Regions from separate parts of the Homo sapiens genome. Here region 2 is linked to region 1. Evidence: promoter capture Hi-C in 16 types of primary human blood cells and fetal thymus (Javierre and others, 2016). All regions are on one chromosome and are shown on one strand. The core of a region is centred on a gene start or on the middle of the fragment in contact, and the rest is flanking DNA. Distances in the headings are between cores, read along the strand shown. Region 1 holds the start of RAD54L (RAD54 like). Region 2 holds the start of EIF2B3 (eukaryotic translation initiation factor 2B subunit gamma).

What was found. The method cuts DNA at HindIII sites, captures the fragments that hold promoters and counts their contacts. A CHiCAGO score of 5 or more calls a contact.
Region 2: a contact is called between a fragment that was not itself captured here and the fragment with the promoter of RAD54L in region 1, in 1 of 17 cell types (monocytes). The highest score is 5.3, in monocytes.

Annotation. Positions count from the first base shown.
Region 1 is chr1:46,245,614-46,250,846 of GRCh38, reverse strand. RAD54L (RAD54 like) reads right to left here and starts at 3,084. Exons shown (of 18, transcript NM_003579.4): 1 at 2,439-3,084; 2 at 2,249-2,335; 3 at 728-847. The coding sequence starts at 2,441. RefSeq lists a silencer at 3,264-3,523. The HindIII fragment of the contact is 28,355 bases long and covers 1,154-5,233 here.
Region 2 is chr1:44,981,766-44,986,998 of GRCh38, reverse strand. EIF2B3 (eukaryotic translation initiation factor 2B subunit gamma) reads left to right here and starts at 404. Exons shown (of 12, transcript NM_020365.5): 1 at 404-506. RefSeq lists enhancers at 61-110, 1-402, 361-630 and a silencer at 181-270. The HindIII fragment of the contact is 4,485 bases long and covers 1,191-5,233 here.

The DNA.
Region 1 (5,233 bases), core at 1,835-4,334:
TATGACACCATGCCCAGTTAATTTTTGTATTTTTAGTAGAGACGGGGTTTCACCATGTTGGCCAGGCTGGTCTCAAACTCCTAACCTCAGTTGATCCACCCATCTCAGCCTTCCAAAGTGCTGTGATTACAGGCGTGAACCACCCGACCCGGCCACAAAACCGTTTTTAAATGTTTGCTGAATGCACAAATGACTAATCTCCATTATGTATTCCTACTTTTCCTTCAAAACATTCCTCATAAAGCTTAGTGGAAAAGCTTTGGAGATAGACAGATCTGCTCCACCCACTCTGAGCAAATTACTTAACCCTTCTGAGACTGTTTTCTCATCTTAAAACGTGAGAATTACATGAGGCAATGCACAGAACCTGCCATGGTGGTGATTAAGTTTGACTTTACTAGAGGAAATACATGACTCTGGTACACCTTAAAGTCATATACAGAGTCAGAGTCTGAGCTGACATGAGGATCCTAGTTCCTTTACCCTCCTTTCCTCAGGAATCTGAACCATCTGATATCTGGTGCCCATGTAGCTACTATAAACCAGGCACAAGTCAGGCACACCTCTCTAAGCAGGCCCCAGCAGCTGTGGGCAGGTCCAAAGCCCCTACAGATGTGTGTCTTCTGGCCACTCTAGAAAGCACTGAGGGAGTGTACAGGGACAGGAGTCTACCTAGGCTGAGTGACTGGGCACAGACATACACATGCAGGTTGCAGTTCTGGCTTACATGCTGACTGCTGTCCAGACAAGGTGGTTGATTGGTTAGCTGACTCAAAGGTTTCCGAAAAGGAGACAGGAAACACTCCTGGATCTGGGTCTCACTGCTGGATTTCCGTTTCCTAGGAGTCTAGGAGAGAGAATTGGGAAAGGTGAAGTCTAGAAGACCACAGAAATCACCATAATGGCAACTAACACTTGAAGTGCTTATTAAGTGCCAGGCACTGTGCTAAATTCTTCACACATGTCATAGTGTATCATCTTCATAGCAACTCTATTATGTAGAGTTATTATCCTTATTTAAGAGGTGAGAAAACTAGAGCTTAATGAGATTAAATAACCTGCCTAAACTGAGCGGGGCAATGGAAGAGGTAAATAAAATGGGCCTCTGAAGAGCAAGTCTACCAACAGCATGGAGTCCTGGTGGCCCAAAGCTTCACTCCAAAAGCTCCATGGAATGATGGAGCAACCAAACATTTCGCTGAGTTTCCAAGAGGCAAGAATACAGCTGCCTTCAACTCCCAGGCCACTGAGGCCACTCCCCACTCAGGCCACCCATGGCTGTGAGGACACTGGCACTAAAAGCATCTTCAGAAGCAACCAGCAACTGACAGCAGACCCAGATGCAGAGAATGCTGCCCCAAGTTCAAGTCTGAGACCCATGTACATGGCAAGGGTCAGCCAATGTGCCTCCTTCACAGGTAGAGAAGCCCCTTGCACACCACGGTACAACTATTGAGCAAGCCCCATCAAGCCATTAGGCAAGAACACACTTGTACCAGCTTGCCAGGATATTTGAAGCCTCAGTGATCCTGTAAGACACACCTGAAACAAACACCAGCACCCCTACCCCACACCTTATTCACACACTGCTCCTGCCAAAAAGTGCCTTCTAGTCCTTGCGTAGCTGATCCCTTCCTTCAAAGTTCCAGTGGCCAAGCCCCCACTTCTTGAACTGCTCTTATTCTCTGAAGTCCATGCTGCACTGTCCTATTTATTTTGGTTTACATAGGTCCTGCCCACAGCCAGCCCCAACAAGCCTCCAAAACAGGAAGCAGAGCCCAGGGCCCAACCTAAAGTAGAATATACTGTACTTGAGTATGAGCAAGGACTGGAAGGACACAACCTGTCAGATCTAGGCCCAAGTGAGCCCAGGACTCCAAGGTAGGCCCAGAACACTCTACTGTTCTGTGACACTGGGCAGGGGACAAAGAGCAAAAGAGCCAGCTGCTAATTGCTGTTGTGTAGCCCTTTTTTCCAAGCAGAGTCAAAAGGTCCAATCCAACTGGCTCTTTTGCTTATCTTTTCCCACCAGGAAAACTGAGGCTATATTAGCTTCTAGTGACTACCCTGAGGATAAAGATTTTACTAATCTTGTTCAATGCCTGGCACATAGTAAGTACTCACTAAAAGTTTATTGAACATACAAAAGAGGCATCTGGAATTGGCTATGTAACCCTAGAAACCAAATCCTGGCTTCTTTTCTGTCCAAACAGCTCTACCCACCTTCCCTGTCCCCTTGAGTGCTCACCACTAGGCCAGGTTGCCAGTCTTCATCATCACAGGACCTGCCTTCAGGTTTTCTCTTGGCCAGCTGGCTGGGAGCCAAGCTCCTCCTCTGTAAAGGGAGAACAGAAACAGTGCCTGCAAGGATCCTGCAGCCTAGGCCTACTAGACCCTGACCCAGGGCTATTCCCAGTCTCCCCTAGGCCCACACTTACCATCCTGGGCCTAGGAGTTTAAAACGTCAAGTACCCATGAGCCAAAGGTCAAAAGCAGGCAGCGGCTAAGAGTGTAGGACCAGGGTCTAATCTGTAGAGGGGGCTGCTACATTATTGAGAGGACCGGCTAATTAAAGAGGGGGCATGGATGGCGGGAATCCATCCAGGAACTGGTGTTTGGAACCAAACTGTGAGAGTGGCCGTCCCCAATAAGCCGAGACGAGAGATTAGGCCAAAGAGGAAGAGACCAAGCAGAGATTAGTGTGGGATTGGGGAGGAGGCAGGTGGAGTCCCAGACTGGGCGGAGTGGAGTGGGGATGATGGTCCCAGTCCGGGTGAAGGGAGGAGGTAGTTGCGCGGCGGGGCGGGGTGGGATTGGGGGTGGGTAATCACTGGCCAGGAGAGAGAAGCTGGGGTGAAAGTCCGAGGCCCGGGTGGGGAGGGCGAGTCTGGAGAAAGGAAATTTCCCAGGGCTGGAGGTGGAAACCAGGATCAGACTCAGGGAGGTCGAGCAGGAAGCCACGCGGGCGTGTAAAAAACCCAGGTTAGGAGGGGAATACCAGGAGGGGCTGAAAAGAGCGACAGAGATAGACGCAGACCCCAGCACCTCTCTCTCAACCTTCCTGTTCCCAAAGCGCGCGTTAACAGCCGCCAAGACTCACCGACCCGCCAAGACCGGGTCAATCGAACCTCCCGCCGCGCTGCCGTCGTATCACCCATTGGCTGCGTTCGATGAGTTCGGCGCTCGCGACCCAAGGAAGAGGCGGGAATAGTGCTGCGCCCAATGAGGAGTCTGGGCTCTGGAGCTGGAGAAGCTAAATTGACCTACTAGGAGGCGTGACTTAGATGGGAGGGCGGGGCCAACAGAGGTGGGCGGTTGGGCGAGAAGAGAGGGGCGGGGCGGGGGCGGGGGTGGCGGGGGAGGGGCGGGGCCAACAGCGAGGAGCAGTTGGGCGAGAAGAGCGGGGCGGGGCGAGAAGAGCTGGACGGGGCGGGGAGGGGCGGGGCCAACAGTGGGGAGCGGTTGGGCTAGAGGAGCGGGGCAGGGCTAGAAGAGCTGGACTGGACGCGACGGAGCGGGGAGGGGAGGGGCGGAATTACTACCTGCGAGCTGGAATTCGGCCCGTCTCGGGTGTTTGTCCCAGGTCGGTGAGCTGTGGTCCCGCAGCTATGGAAGGGAAGATTTACGCCACATTGAGCAGCAGGGGAGTTACCACCTGTAGTGGACAGCTGGGGATTATGAAAGGCGGCACATTTCTGGGAGTTTGGATTGAATCTACAGTGGTACCAGGTCTAGAGCGGAGGGCCGGGGTTGGAGTCAGGCCTCGCCCACCCAGAAAGTGGGGAGAGGCATTCGGCCCAGACTGCCACGTGGCGGGCTCGGGCAATGGGAGCCCCCGGATGACGCGACTTTCTCGCTCAGGGGTGTCTTGAAAGAAGCTGCCTTCCTCTCCAAGGCCAAACCGCGTTGGAGGAAGCGTTGTGTTTGGAGTCAGAGATTTAATCATCCAATCTCTCAAAACGTCAGTTTCTTCATATCTAAAGTGGCATTATAATAGTACCTCCCCCCCATGGCTATTCTGACAAGTAAATTAATGTGCGTAAAGCACCCAACAGTGGCATGCACAACCTAGGTACTCACTAATAATGATAAGGGTGTATTTATAGCATTTACCACCAGGCATTTCTGAGCTTCTAAGATATAACAGTTCATGTAATGCTCATGACTATGAGGTAGGTTTATTTTTGTCCCCATTTTGTAAGTGAGGAAACAGGCCTAGATAGGCTAGTAACTTGTACAAGGTCACACACCTGAGTATAGCTTAAGCCATCCTCACAGGGTTATCAAGAATTCTGAGGTCAGGCATGGTGGCTCACACCTGTAATTCCAGCACTTTGGGAGGCCGAGGCAGGAGGATTGCTTGAGCCCAGGACTTCCAGATCAGCCTGGGCAACACGGAGAAACCCCATATCTACAAAAAAATTAGCCAGGCATGGTGGTGCACAGCTGTAGTCCTAGCTATTGCAGACGCTGAGCTTGGAAGCATCGCTTGAGCCTGGAAGGTCAAGCTGCAGTGAGCCAAGATCGCGCCACTGCACTCCAACCTGGACGACAGAGCAAGACCCTATCTCAAAACAAAGAATTCTGGGCCGGGCGCGGTGGCTTACGCCTGTAATCCCAGCACTTTGGGAGGCCGAGACGGGCGGATCACAAGGTCAGGAGATCGAGACCATCCTGGCTAACACGTGAAACCCCGTCTCTACTAAAAATACAAAAAATTAGCCGGGAGCGTTGGCGGGCGCCTGTAGTCCCAGCTACTCGGGAGGCTGAGGCAGGAGAATGGCGTGAACCCGGGAGGCGGAGCTTGCAGTGAGCTAAGATCGTGCCACTGCACTCCAGCCTGGGCGATAGAGCGAGACTCCGTCCCAAAAAAAAAAAAAAAGAATTCTGGAGAGAAATATCGTTTTAATTAAGTATTAATCGGTTGGGAGGCTGTGGCCAGCGGATCACTTTAGGTCAGGAGTTCGAGAACAGCCTGGCCAACATGGTGAAACCCCGTCTCTACTAAAAGCACAAAAATTAGACGGGCGTGGTGGCAGGCGCCTGTAATCCCAGCTACTCATGAGGCTGAGGCAGGAGAGTCGCTTGAACTCAGGAGGGGAGGTTGCAGTGAGCCGAGATCGCACCACTGCACTCCAGCCGGAACGACAGAGCGAGACTCCATTTCAAAAATAATAAATAAATATTTCTGGTTCTAGTTTCCAGTAATAGCAAATAAATGTAGTCAGATTAA
Region 2 (5,233 bases), core at 2,184-4,683, 1.3 Mb after region 1:
TAGGAAGTCCTGGCAACCCCTGCAGGGGCATTCGGTGATTTTTTTCACTAGCTAGCCAAAATTGCGGCTCCCAATGAGCTTTCTTTCACCGAATGTACTCGAAGCCAGGTCTTAGACTTACTCCCTGAGGAAAGAGGCTGAGTTGTTCCGTCTGGGTTCCCGGCACCCTGCACTGGGAGGAATACTCAAAAGGCGTTGGTAATGTGTTAATGGACAGAGGGACACACGTGTCGAATGCTCCTCGGTGGCCCCGCCCCCTCCGGCCCGCCTTCCCTCCTCTCCGCTGAGTGTGCTTCCCCTCCGTCATCCATCGCTCGGCGGTCTTCTCTTCTCCATGGGTCTGCTCTGCGCGTTCCATCGAGTTTCTCGGCCATCGCGCGCCTGCGCCATTGGGCTGTCAGTCAGAGGCGGCGTGGAGATCGCTGGGAGCGGTTGCGGCGTGCCGGGAGCTGAGTTATAGCTGTGACTTCTGCCCTGCCAGGCCGCACACAAGCTGGCTGACCCGGGTGAGCAGTGCGGTGGGGCCACTCATCTGAGGGAGGCGGGCATGTCGAACTGGGCCGAGGTGGACCCGAAGGGGTAGGAGAGGGTGCTGAGCCCCGAAGTTGTCAGCTCGACTCCCTGCTCGACCCGGTGTAGCTGTGTCCGAAGTAGAAGGGAGGTTGGGGATGAGAATCCGAGCCAACCACCTTATGCAACAGATGGAGGAACTAAGTTTCTAATCTCAGCTACTCGAGAGTCTGAGGCAGGAGAATCGTTTGAACCCAGGAGGTGGAGGTTGCAGTGAGCCTAATTCGCGCCACTGCACTCCAGCCTGGGCAACATAGTGAGACTCTCCGTTTCAAAAAAAAAAAAAAAAAGAAAAGAAAAGAAAGAAACGAAGTTTCGGGGAGGGTTCTGCTTAAAGTCACAGCGAGTGAGCGAGCACCAGACCGGTACCAGACGCCTTTAGCACTGTGCCTGCACTCTTTCAGCCTCAGCCCTTCATTCATTTGTTCAGCCTGCCTTTAGTTGTTTGGATGCAGGGCAGTGAAATATAGGGAGGAGCAGTGAGGTCTCTGCCTTCAGGCAGCACACGTGGAATGACAGACCAATTCTGATACAGTTTTCTTATCTATTTACAACTGGAAAAGGCATGAGTGCTATGATGCAGGCAAGTCTGAGATGCGGTGAACACCCTCTCCAAAGCTTGGGAGGCAGCGAGACTCGTTGCCATGATTCCCGTCAGCCATAGTCGTGGCAGTGACATGAGCATTTGACAGTCTGCCTGGTAGCATGATTAGTTATGTTCATGATTACTATTCATGCTTCCTAGGTTGCCTTTCTTCACCCAGGGCCTCCTTGAGAGCTGGAACCTCAGTTCCTAGTGACCTGGGTTCTAATGCCCTTATGCACATGTTTGAGTTTGACTCTTATACAGTTGTGAAGTTCACAGGTCCTCATTCCACTTTGATTTCTGGCATCTGACTGGGAATACAGTGATGATGCACACACAGTCCAAGAAAGTCACTCTTACACTCTTATGTAGACATTTAAGAGACATTAATGTTACACTTAAGTAGACATTTAAACACATACGTGCAATGAAACCCGTAAAGGCTAAGAGAATCTGCACATGGCAGAATGGAAGCACTTCGGGAAAAGGAGTCACTTCTGGAGGGGTGGGAACGGTTAGGAATGGCTTTGTAGGCAAGAGGATTCTTGAGCTGTCTTCAAAGTTTAATAGGTGATTACTAGACACAAGAGAAAGGCAGACTAGGAAGCAACAGTAGCAGTGCAGAGACCAGAATTATGAAGCAGCATGGCTCAATTAGTACGAAGGTTTTCCATAATCTAGTCTCTGTCTAGTAAAGCAAATACAAATATAGTGCTTCTCATAAGATGGACATTATTGGCCGGGCGCGGTGGCTCACGCCTGTAATCCCAGCACTTTGGGAGGCCGAGGCGGGTGGATCATGAGGTCAGGAGATCGAGACCATCCTGGCTAACAAGGTGAAACCCCGTCTCTACTAAAAATACAAAAAATTAGCCGGGCGCGGTGGCGGGTGCCTGTAGTCCCAGCTACTCGGGAGGCTGAGGCAGGAGAATGGCGTGAACCCGGGAAGCGGAGCTTGCAGTGAGCCGAGATTGCGCCACTGCAGTCCGCAGTCCGGCCTGGGCGACAGAGCGAGACTCCGTCTCAAAAAAAAAAAAAAAAAAAAGATGGACATTATTTTGTCTGCTTTACGTAGAATAACAAATTTAATCTTAACAACAACTCTGTGAAGTGAAACTATAATTATCCCCATCATAAAATGCAAAAATTGAGGCATAGAAAATTTACGTAGTTTGCCCTAGTTCACACAGCTAATAATAAATAGTAGAGCTAGAATTCAAACCTAGGCATTCTAGCTCTATGGTCTGTGAACCTAACCACCAGGCTTCCTTCTAGAAGCTGAGGACACTGAGAGTTTTAAATGTCAGGCCCCTGATCACACCTATGAGTGTCAGAATCATGACTCAAACTCATCTTTTGACTTTTTTTTTTTGGGACAGGGTCTCACTCTGTTGCCCAGGCTGGAGTGCAGTGGTGTGCAGCCTTAACCTCCCAGGCTCAGGTGATTCTCCCACCTCAGCCTCCCGAGTATCTGGGACTACAGGCATGCGCCACCATACCTGGCTAATTTTTTATAGAGATGGGGTCTCACCATGTTGCCCAGGCTGTTCTAGAATTCCTAGGCTCAAGTGATCCTCTCATCTTGGCCTCCCAAAGTGCTGGGAGCATGAGCCACTGTGCCTGGCGCTCTTTTGGCTCTTTTTTATTTTATTTTATTTTTTTTGAGACGGAGTCTCACTCTGTCGCCCAGGCTGAAGTGCGAGTGGTGTGCTCTCAGCTCACTGCAGCTGCTGCCTCCCGGGTTCCTGTGATTCTCCTGCCTCAGCCACCTGAGTAGCTGGGATTACGGGTGCCTGACACCATGCCTGGCTACTTTTAAAAATGTTTTTGGTAGAGGCCGGGCGCAGTGGCTCATGCCTGAAATCCCAGCACTTTAGGAGGCCAAGGCAGGTGGATCACCTAAGGTTAGGAGTTCAAGACCAGCCTGGCCAACATGGTGAAACCCTGTCTCTACTAAAAATCCAAAGAATTAGCCAAGTATGGTGGCGGATGCCTGTAATCCCAGCAACTTGGGAGGCTGAGGCAGGAGAATCGCTTGAACCTGGGAGGCAGAGGTTGCAGTGAGCCAAGATCATGCCATTGCACTCAACCTGGGGAACAAGAACTCTGTTTCAAAAAAAAAAATTTTTTTTTAGTAGAGACAGAGTTTCACCAAGTTGGCCAGGCTGCTCTTGAACTCCTGACCTCAGGTGATCCGCCCGCCTGGGCCTCCCAAAGTGCTGGGATTACAGGCGTGAGCCACCACGTCCAGCTCATCTTTTGACTCTTAAGGGTCCAGTGCTCTTTTCATAATAACATTTGATGTGGTGGATGTTATATAATACCAAAATGAAATTAAATTACACTTTGAGGCAATGCTTGCTAGAATCTACATGACCATATCTTTACATTGTGAATGTTATGCAGGAGCCTTCACTTTGTGCCTTGGGTATAGTAGGTGTTAAGTGCTGCACTTTAGATGTTGATGTGCTGGGCCCAGGAGTAATAATAATTATAGTAAAGTTGCAACATTATTTGGCAATTTGATGTTGAATAGATTGTTTCTTCTGAACGTTACATTTTAACACATTTGTTCTTAAAATTACATCATTGTAAGAGAAAGTACTTTCAGTTTAAATCAGTAAAGATCGGTCAGGTGCAGTGGCTCATGCCTCTAATCTCAGCACTTTGGGAGGCCCAGGCAGGAGGCCTGAGGCCAGGAGTTTGAGACCAGCCTGGGCAGCATAGTGAAACCCCATCTCTATAAAAAATTAATTAAAAGAATTAGCCAGGCGGCCAGGTGCAGTGGCTCATACCTGTAATCCCAGCACTTTGGGAGGCCAAGGTGGGCAGATCACCTGAGGTTGGGAGTTCGAGACCAGCCTGACCAATGTGGAGAAACCCTGTCTCTACTAAAAATACAAAATTAGCTGGGCAGCTGGGCGTGGTGGTGCATGCCTATAATCCCAGCTCTTTGGGAGGCTGAGGCAGGAGAATCACTTGAACCTGGGAGGCAGAGGTTGTGGTGAGCTGAGATCGTGCCACTGCACTTCAGCCTGGGCAACAAGAGAGAAACTCCGTCTCAAAAAAAAAAAAAAAGCCAGGCATGGTGGTACCCACCTGTAGTCCCAGCTGCTCCAGAGGTTGGGGCAGGAGGATTGCTTTAGTGCAGGAGGTTGAGGCTGCAGTGAGCCATGATCTTACCACTGCACTTCCAGACTGGGCAATGGAGCAAGACTCTGTCTCTAAATAAACAATAAATAAATAGGATGGGCACGTGGCTCACACCTGTAATCCCAGCACTTTGGGAGGCCGACTCCGGTGGATCACCTGAGGTCAGGAGTTTGGGACCAGCCTGGCCAACATGGTGAAACCCCATCTCTACTAAAAATACAAAATTAGCCAGGCATGGTGGCCCATGCCTGTGATCCCAGCTACTCGGGAGGCTGAGGCAGGAGAATCGCTTGAACTTGGGAGGTGGAGGTTGCAGTGAGCCGAGATCACGGCATTGCACTCCAGCCTGGCAACAAGAGTGAAATTCCATCTCCAAAAATAAATACATAAATAAAGATTTATGACCTTCTACTGTGCCTCTGTTCTGTGGTAGTTTCTGTAAAGAGATTCTTTTCAAAGTCAAATAGGTTTGTTTATTACCTTGAGTTTGAAAAAAGGAATTAACAGTTTGGTTTGTTTTTATAATTGTGTTCTGTAAATCTAGGTTCAGATACAAGCCTACGTTTGTGTTTATAGTGATATCTTTAAAAATTGGAGGAATAAGATGAGCCGATGGCTGAATTATTGGAGGAGTCTTAAGTCATTTCATACTTTTCAGAAGCCTAACATGCTTGTGTTTCTGCTGTTAATTCTAGTCAGGCATCTTTTAATATTTTCTTTTTTCTCTCTTTTTTTTTTTTTTTTTTTGAGACAGGATCTCACTCTGTCACACAGGTTGGAGTGCAGTGGTCCAATCTCAATCTCGGCTCACTGCAACACCTGCCTCCCAGGCTCAAATGATCCTCCCACTTCAGCTTCCCAAGTAGCTGGAACCATAGGCACAAGCCACCACCCCTGGCTAATTTTTTGTATTTTTGGTAGAGA